Regions from separate parts of the Homo sapiens genome. Here region 1 is linked to region 2. The links are contacts of gene promoters, found by promoter capture Hi-C in human tissues and cell types (Jung and others, 2019). All regions are on one chromosome and are shown on one strand. The core of a region is centred on a gene start or on the middle of the fragment in contact, and the rest is flanking DNA. Distances in the headings are between cores, read along the strand shown. Region 1 overlaps SMAGP (small cell adhesion glycoprotein). Region 2 holds the start of GPD1 (glycerol-3-phosphate dehydrogenase 1).

Region 1 (4,590 bases), core at 1,737-4,236, 1.1 Mb before region 2:
TCTCCTGTAGTACTTTCTGTCTTATGAATTTGATTGCTCTAAGCACATCATATAAGTGGAATCATACAATGTTTGTCCTCTTTTTTTTTGTTTGAGACAGAGTCTCGCTCTTTCGCCTGGGCTGGAGTGCAGTGGCATGATCTTGGCTCACTGCAACCTCTACCTCCCGGGTTCAAGTGATTCTCCTGCCTTGGCCTCCCAAGTAGCTGGGATTACAGGCACCTGCCACCACGTCCGGCTAATTTTTGTATTTTTAGTAGAGACGGGGTTTTACCACGTTGGCCAGGCTGGAATGTTTGTCCTTTTGTGCCTGGCTTATTTCACTTAGTGTCATGTCCTCAAGGTTCATCCATGTTGTAGTATATGTCTGAATTCCTTCCTTTTTTGTTTTTTGTTTTTTTTTAGAATTTCCTTCCTCTTTAAGGGTATGTATATACCACATTTTGTTTATCCATTTATCTACTGTTGGACATTTGGGTTATTTCACCTTTTATTTAGCTATTGCATAATGCTCCTATGAACATGATATACAAGTATCAGTTGAAGTCCATTCATTTCTTTTGGGTATATACCTAGAAGTGGGATTGCGGGATCATACCCACCCAGCAATGAGATTGCTGGGTAATTCTGTTTAATCCTGGCAGGAACTTTAAAGGTAAGGGTTTTTGCCTGTGTTGTTCACTGATAGAAGCCCAGAGCCTGGCACAGAGTACACACTCAGTAAATTCTTGTTGAACTAACTGTTTAATTTCCCTGTCTAGGAACCTGGAATCTCAGTCTAAGAAGGCTGTGCAGCTTATCTGACCCAGCTTGCTCTCAGTAGTCCCATTCTGACTTCTAATGCTTGCTGTTTCGAGTTCAAAGCCCCCCAAACAGGCCGTAATAGTGTGTTCTAGAACTTTGCTGGGGAGTCACATCAAGCTCACCATTGCTTTATGGACTCCACCTTCCTTCCATGGCCCCTTCAGGTTCCCGACCCCTTTCTCTTTCTCAGAAGCTCCTATGTCACCAACAGAAATCCCATTTACAAGTTCTTGCAGTGCCTTTGGCTGTCATATCTGGTCCCTTTTAGATTAGTCTGGTGCTTGCTGGGTTTCTTTGCTTCTCTTGAGCTCACTTCCCCCATGTCCCCAAAGGCTCCACTGCTCCTTAGTGCAAAAAAATGATTCTCTTTGATAGGAAACAGAGGTGAAAAGGCCTGAGGGAATTCTGCTTTCTCTGTTACCTCCAACCTGACCCCTCAGGCCCAAAGAAGCCTAGCTTTTTCTTTGTTCTTGTTGCAAATATAATGCTTTTTAAATTGTCCTTCGGGGGGCGATGTGGCTCACGCCTGTAATCCCAACACTTTGGGAGGCTGAGGAGGGCGGATCACCTGAGGTCAGGAGTCTGAGACCAGCCTGGCCAACATGGCAAAACTGTCTCTACTAAAAAATACAAAAATTAGCCGGGTGTGGTGGCACATGCCTGTAATTCCAGCTACTTGGGAGGCTGAGGCAGGAGAATTGCTTGAACCCAGGGGGCGGAGGTTGCAGTGAGCCGAGATGAAGCCACTGCACTCCAGCCTGGGTGACACAGTGAGACTTGGCCTCAAAAATAATAATAATAGGCCGGGCACAGTGGCTCATACCTGTAATCCCAGCACTTTGGGAGGCCGAGGCGGGCAGATCACGAGGTCAGGAGATCAAGACCATCCTGGCTAATATGGTGAAACCCCGTCTCTACTAAAAAATACAAAAAATTAGCCGGGCGTGGTGACATGCGCCTGTAGTCCCAGCTACTCGGGAGGCTGAGGCAGGAGAATCGCTAGAACCTGGGAGACAGAGGTTGCAGTGAGCCAACATCGCGCCACTGCACTCCAGCCTGGGTGACAGAGCGAGACTCTGTCTGGAAAAAAAAAAAAAAATCTGATGTAGAGTCTGCCTTCTTGTCATCGTTTAAATATTGAGGTAAATTTCTTTGCACCTTTCTTCATCTGCACTTTCTGCTTCACCAGATGGCTTCATATAAGTGGAAACTGACCAATAGCTGCATCGCAGCAAGGCATTCTGTAGAATTTTTTTCTTAAGGTCTTCCTGTATGGCTAAAATATTCTCTAGTTGTGAGAAAGCTTGCTTCTGATCATGTTAAACATTAAAGCTAAAGAGGGTGGGGAGTCCTCTGAACCTCTTTTGGTTCTAGGGGCTGCTCAATTTAAAAAAATTAAAGAATAGATAACTGAAAATAAACTAAAAATAAAGAAGTCACATATAAACCAACATGACTTCTGCATTACACTGACATCGTTCCCTTAAGTTACCTATCACCAGTGAGCCAGTTCATGTTAAAGAAGCACTTTGTAGCACAACTGTCTGTATTTAATTGTGATCATCTGGTTTCCTCCCACCTTTATTCTTTTTTTTTTTTTTTCTGAAACAGGGTCTCACTCTGTCACCCAGACTAGAGTACAGTGGCACAATCACAGCTCACTGCAGCCTGGACCTCCTGGGCTCCAGTGATCCTCTCACCTCAAGTTTACCGAGTAGCTGGGACTACAGGTGTGTGCCACCATGTCTGGCTAACTTTTTTTTTTTTTTTTTTTTTGTAGAGATGGGAGTCTGGCTATGTTGCCCAGGCTGGTCTCCAACTCCTGGGCTCAAGCGATCCACCTGCCTTGGCCTCCCAAGGTGCTGGAATTACAGGCGTGAGCCACTGCACCCAGCCTCCTCCATATATTATTTTTAAAAAACAAATAGAGATGGTGTCTTGCTATATTGTCCAGATTAGTCTCAAACTCCTGGCCTCAAGCAATCCTCCTGCCTCCGCCTCCCAAAGTGTTGGGATTACAGGCGTGAGCTACCACACTAAACCTAATGTACAAAGTAAGTTACTGTTGATGATTGAACACAAATTACTCATCTTCAAGCTTCTGATATACATTAATCTTCTCAATGCTTTGTACATCCTAAATTCTCAAAATGTTTAAAGAAAGCAAAACTAGGAACAACTGTATAGAACTCTAGATCCATGGTAGGAAGATGGATTGCAGCCCTGGGCGATTTGGGGAGGAAAGTGCATGGTGAAATGTGTGAAGTCATGACCAGGTAGATAAACTTCAGGGCTTCCCTTTGATGGGAGTCACAGTGTTGTATAACCTAATCTCAGAAGTTACATGCCATCATTTTTGCCATCATCTGTTAAAAGCAAGTCACCAGGTTCAACCCATATACCAGAGGAGAGGCATGCTCAAAGATGTCAATACCAGGAGGCAGAAATCATTGTGAGCCATCTTAGAAGCTGTACACCACACTCCCATTTCACAAATCAAGAAACTGAGGTACTGCCAGGTGTGGTGGCACACGCTTATAATCCCAGCATTTTGGGAGGCCAAGGCAGGAAGATTGCTTGAGGTCAGGAGGTTGAGGCCGCAGTGAGCCAAGATTGCACCATTGCACTCCAGCCTGAGCAACATAGTGAGATCCTTGTCTCAACAACAACAACAAAAAAAAAACAAAAAAAAAACACAACAACAACAACAACCAGGTTCAGAGAGGTTTAGTAACTTCCTCAAGGTCACCTAGTAATATGCTTAGGCAGGATTCAAACCCAGAGCAACTCTCCCTTTAATTAATTTATTTTTTTGAGACAGGGTCTCATTACTCTGTTGCCCAACAATTCAGTAATGCAGTGCTGGCTCATTGCAGGCTTAACCCCCTGGGCTCAAGCAATCTTCCCACTTCAGCCTCATGAGTATCTGGGACTACAGGCGCATATTACCACACCTGGCTAATTTTTACATTTTTTTTTTTTTTTTTTTTGTAGACAGAGTCTTACTGTGTTGCCCAGGCTGGTCTCAAACTCCTGGCCTCAAGCGATCTTCCCACCTTGGTCTCCCAAAGTGCTGGGATTACAGGCATGAGCCACCATGCCTGGCCCTTTTAATCACTAAGCATATTAACAAAGTCACCTTAAATAATATTTAAGTAGTAGCTACTATATGATGTTTACATGTTCTCTCATTTAATCTTCATAATAGAACTGCAATGTTGGTTAATATAGTTCCTGTGGGTAACAGATGAGAATGGATGAATGAATCCATATGTATAGGCGAGGCACAGTGGCTCACACCTGTAATCCCAGCACTTTGGGAGGCCGAGGCAGGTGGATCACTCGAGGCCAGGAGTTCGAGACCAGCCTGGCCAACATGGTGAAACCCTGTCTCTACTGAAAATACAAAAATTAACTGGGCATGGTGGCACACACCTGTAATCCCAGCTACTCAGGAGGCTGAGGCAGAAGAATCGCTTGAGCCAGGAGGTGGAAGTTGCAGTGAGCCGAGATTGCGCCACTGCACTCCAGCCTGGGCAATGGAGCAAGACTCCATCTTAAAAAAAAAAAATGTATAACTGTTCTAGACAAACTCTAAAACCATTTTTCCTCAGCTCTCACAACAGTTGACACAGAAGACTTCTGTGACCCCAAAATATTTGAGAATTTCTCTGCACCAGCAAGCAAGCAAGCAGTTCCACAGCAGACACCAAGAGGGTGTCTTCCAATTCAATTCTGACACTATCTACCTAGAGATAGTGTCAGATACCACAGGCCAAGGTCTGG
Region 2 (5,027 bases), core at 2,406-4,905:
TATCATCTCCATGAGTCCCAGCCGGATCACTGCCGCCTTGGTGTTGTCGCCAAAGCCCAGGCCATCACAGAAGCCAGCCCCCACGGCCACTACATTCTTGAAGGAGTGGAGGTCATAGGTGAGAAAAGACCCCCTCCTATAGGCCCCATGTGGAGCCCCCTCATACTCATTTCATCAGCCGTGACACCCACTGCAGAAGAGAGGTATAGTGTGTGGCCTTTTAGAAGCCTACTTCCGCCTCTTGGTTTCCCCCCTTGCTGCACCCCCTTTCTTAAGCCCTGCCCCATACTCCCTCCTCGAGGACATTTTCTGAAAACCACTCTTCTCTCTAGTTGATCTTCCCATCTATGACCATTCCATTGTACAGCCCTCAAGTCAACAGCTGTCCAGGATCCATAGTTCTGGCCATTAGTCTGTCTGGGTGTCAAGGATGTTTTGTCTCCCATTAGCCTGGGCATCTCCTTGTCCCCCTGGACCACCTCCTGGAGCCAGAGGGTGGGGAGTCCCACACGGGGCTAAAATGGGACAGGAGCAAGGGGGTCCACGGTCTGATGATGAATAATCAGCCGGCCTGAATGGCCCTGGCCTTGCTTCTGCAGCTCCTCCTATATGCATGGGACATGGTAGGAAAGGGGAACCACTGCTCAATAGTGAGAGCCTGGAGTACCTGCAGCCTTGCAGAGCTCAGCCAGACCTCCTTTGGGGCCTTCTCCTCACCCCATAGCTGCCTCTGTGCCCCTCTCACCTTTAAGGCTCCACAGATCTCTACTGTGTCCACCTCTTGCACCACTGTGATACGGAAGTTTGGTGTCTGCATCAGCTCTTTCAGGAGTTGTCCCTGGGCCGGGTCCTTGCAGCCTAAAGTGAGGAGGGGGCAAGGCTTTGAGGGAAGGACTCTTTTTAAAAAATATTTATTTTATAGAGATGGGAGTCTCTCTCTGTTGCCCAGGCTGGACTCAAACTCCTGGGCTTAAGCGATCCTCCCACCTCAGCCTCTTAAGTAGCTGGGACCACAGGTGTGCCACTGCACCAACTCTGAGGGAGGGCTCATCACTGTGTTTCCCTAAGCAGGCCCTGAAGCCCCTTCCCTGGGGGTGTCCCAGCCTCCTTCACCTCTGATGCTTGTATTTTCCTTTCTCTGCCTTATGGGAAAGAGATGGCTAAGTGGGGTTGGGGCAGTTTGGGGAGGGGATGCAACTAGATGCACTGTGTATGCAGGTGCCAGGGGGCTCTCACCAATGGTTGTCTCACAGAACTTCTCATCAGCCACCTCGCTGGCAATGTTGGCCCCCATCAGCACACTCATGGGGATGCCGAGGCGCTCCCCAATCACTTCCGAGATGAGCTTCAGCCCATTGGGGCCCTCGTCTACCCCCTGAGCACAGGATGGAGCTCAGGCCAGGTGCCCTTTGGGCCCACCTGCGGGCTTCCGCCCAGAAATTCTGTCCCTTCCAAATCCATTGCTCATCTGTGTCCCTCCCGACAGGTCCTGCCCCATTCCAACCCAGCTCAAGTTTGCTGTGAGGAGGCCAGACAGCATGTGACCAACTGTCCTGCCACATACCCTCAACCAGTCTACTTCTCCAAGGCAACGGGTCCCCTCCACATCCCTAGGCAACCCCGCCTGACTGCCCCAACAAACTGCCATTCAGTGACCAGTCACTGCTCCAAACCAGCTACTCTTCACACTTCTCAAACCAGCCCGCTTCTCATATCTCCCAGGCATTCCTTTATACCTCCGAAACTCCCCGAGAGGACCTCCAAACCAATCTCGTCTCCTCCCTTCAGCCTCCCTTCCAGTGACCCCCAGCACCTCACTGCTTTCCTAAGCCTCTCCAGAGCCAACTGCCTCTCTTTTCTCCAGCAAACTCTTGGCCTGCGTCTGCCATTTTCTGTTCTCCTTGCTTCACCCACCCTGAACCCCACAACAGTGAGCCGCACCCTCCCCCATCCACATGAAGGTGTCCCTGGCACCTTAATAAGAGATATGCCAGTGGCGTTTGCCTTCAGATGGCCCTTGAGCTGGTCACAGATCTTGCCGATGAACTGATGGGGCACCACAAAGATCAGGATGTCAGCATCCTCTGCAGCCTGGACCACATCTGGGACAGCCACCTGTGGGGGTGACCAAGTGCTCGCGGGCCTGGCAGACCTCCCCTAGCCCCTGTGGAACCCTATTCAGGAGATCTGGGAGCCAAAGAGTGAGGCTGGTAGGGGAGCAGGAAGGCTTGTTTGGGACTGAATCTAGAAGGACTGAACTTGGAGGAATAAGACACTCTACTCCCTCCCCCCAGCTACCACTCTGTCTCCCTCCAGCTGTCCTGGGCTCTTGAGGACTCCTGGAAACCTCATCCCAGCACTCTCCTATCCCTTGGCTGTGGGACAGTGCGGGAGGCCAAAAGCAGCCTGGGCTTGGCAAAAGAAAGAGCTCAAATAAGATTTCATCACCCAGCTCCTCAGGAACCCCAGCTGGGAAGGGGGAGCCCCAGCCTTTCTGCTCTCTTCCCTGCTTCCCCTTTCCAGGTGGGGAGAGCCACGTGGATTTGACCAAAGACCGTAAGTCCAAGGAGCAGCCTCCAAGTCGGCTACTCACTCAGTGAATGAGTAACAGGATTAGTGCCGGAGGCAGGCACTACTGGACCCCAAGTCTGGGAGCCCAGTCTTTGGCTGCCATGGAGACCAACTTGTTCTCCCATCCCTTCCCCACCCACCCGCCTGGGAGCCTGTGAGGGGAAAGCATAGGTTCTCCTCAGTCCTCAGGAAAGGGCCCAGAGCAGCCCTCCTGAGACCTTCCCAAGTCCTGCTGCACCTGAAGCGGCCCTCTCAGCAGGAGGCACCTGTTGAGTAAGGTCGGCTCCAACTCCTGGCCCTCCCTTCCTCTCCCTGTTCTTCGCAGGGTGTTGGGGCTCACCACATTTGGGGGCAACTTGTGCCCTGGCAGGTATTTGACATTCTCATGCTGCGTGTTGATGATCTCAGTCAGCTTTTTGCCTCCAATGTCTTCCTCAAATACCCACATGGTCACCCGTGGGTCAAACTGTGCCAGCTGGGCTGCATTGCCACCCACGATCTTGGCGATGGCTGAGCCCCTGGTGGGAGGGGGAGCACAGGAAAGTACAGGAGGAGGGAACAGTGGCAGGAGTTGGGGCAGCGCCCCACCTCAGGATCTCACAGCAGCCCCCCAGGCTGTTCACTCCTACCTACCTTCCTTATCACCTCCACTCCCATGACAAATAGTCCCCAGTGACCTGGCAGTAGAAAGGAGACTCAGTCTCCTCACCCTTTGCTACTAGAGAAGGGAGCCCCACTTCTCATCTTCCCACCCCCAAACTCAAGCGGCTCTTCACATAGAGAGCTCTGGAGACGCCTTCCCATGGTGAACAGGTGCAGCTGCCCAGGAGGGCGGGGGTCAGGAGAGGGCCGGGCACCGTCTGTCCTGTGCTGCTATGATAGAAGATAGCAGCAGGGGCTGAACAGGAACCTGAGGGCCTTTCCCACCCATTCTGCCTCCTACCCACCTCTGTCTTGGGGGGCCTACCCTTCCCCCATATCACTTGACAGAGCTGCTTACCAGTTCCCGGAGCCTACAATGCAGACTTTCTTGCTAGCCATGGTGCCGCGTCTCTGCCTGAGCCGGCTCAGTGCCACACTCCCTAGCTCCTCTGCCGGCTAGGAGCATTTAACTCCACCACACGTGGGTGCAGCCAAGCCCCGCCCTCCAGGGGTGGGTGGGGAGGCTGGCGCCCAGGGAGATAGAGAGTCTGGCAGAGCCAGGGAAAGGAGAGACAGGGGTACAGACAGGTGTGGAACAGGAATGGGGCAGAGACTAGGCCCAGCTTTTTCTCCTGGGCTCATCGGCTGACAGTGCTGGCAAGCTTCTTCCCTTGGCCCCAGCCCAGCTTCCCACCATGGTCTCATTTTGAGGTCTGCTAAGAAAATAGCCCAGATAAGGAGCAGGTGACTGCTCTCCCTTGCTCCTTTCTGTCCCCCAGCATGAAATAAATTGTATTTAGCTTCAGTAGCAGCTAGGGGAATGCTTTTCAGAGGTAGGCTCCTCCATGACCCCCTATCCCCCCGCCAACCCTGCCACATATCCTCACAGGACCCTGTTCCACAGTTCTGTCCTCCAGCAGGCCCACGCTAGCTCCACTGCAGGGCTGGGGTGGGGGATGTGGGCCCACTTCCCACCTCTAAAGATGAGGCCACATAAGAGGTAAGGGCCTGCTTTGAGGACAGCCCAGCTCAAAAAAGGATGAGAGACTCCAGGTGCCTCAAAAGACAAGATTGTCTTGGTCACCCACAGAGGTCATCTTGGGGACTCATCCATGGGCCTCTCAGATGATCCCCACCCAAAAATGTGTTCTAGGGAAGGTGGGAAAGGTTAAAGTTAGAGAGCTCTGAGAATTGCGGTACACAATTTTGTTGTAGACTCTGGGCTTAAGAGGACAGGAGAGAATAGGAGGCAGGCAGAGTGCACACTGTCCTTGAAAGGCTTTGAGCCTCCTTCAACTCCTCCTCTCAGGGGTTTCCAAGGTACTGCCCCAGGGGCTTCATCAGGTGAATGGCTAGTTTGCAGAGGCCAGAAAAGGGGAAGGCAGGCAGTACCCGGGGCAGCTGTGTCCGTGGGGCTTTGTGGTCTCAGATGCTGTGATTGGGGGTAAGTTTGGTGTATGTTTTTTGGGGAAGGGCGAGAATGGAAGGAGCACCCTCAGCAGTTCAGGGCTCTGCATCGCCCACGGCCATCTGTTTGTCTAAGACGAGGGAAGCTCTGGTTTCCAGGCTGATCTGGAGAGTGGAGCAAGAGGCTCCTAACACTGTGCACCTTGGCCTAGAGGGCAGACACCACTGTGTGCTCATGTGCTGACCTCCTGGCTTGGCAGACGGCTAGGTGGGTGTTGCCATCCCCCTGGGCTGTTGCTGGCCAGCAACTGGTAACAAGCACTGGGCTACAGGGGAGTCTGTGTGCAACCCATGGGTAGGAGTAAGCAGGCAGGAGGTCAAGACTGGGGAGAAATGGCTTTCTAAGT

The links. Contacts are between HindIII fragments. The study calls those that stand out against the background at their distance.
Region 1: a fragment that was not itself captured here is called in contact with the fragment with the promoter of GPD1 in region 2 in 1 of the 25 tissues and cell types used here (spleen).

The regions. Positions count from the first base shown.
Region 1 is chr12:51,249,409-51,253,998 of GRCh38, reverse strand. The region is part of intron 2 of SMAGP (small cell adhesion glycoprotein); the gene reads left to right. Among named protein-coding and RNA genes, the nearest start is that of DAZAP2, 13 kb to the right of the region's middle. The HindIII fragment of the contact is 4,561 bases long and covers 706-4,590 here.
Region 2 is chr12:50,102,636-50,107,662 of GRCh38, reverse strand. It overlaps GPD1 (glycerol-3-phosphate dehydrogenase 1), which reads right to left and starts at 3,655. Exons shown (of 8, transcript NM_005276.4): 1 at 3,572-3,655; 2 at 2,912-3,089; 3 at 1,975-2,115; 4 at 1,237-1,375; 5 at 746-858; 6 at 1-96. The coding sequence starts at 3,612. RefSeq lists an enhancer at 4,596-4,645. The HindIII fragment of the contact is 8,009 bases long and covers 1-5,027 here.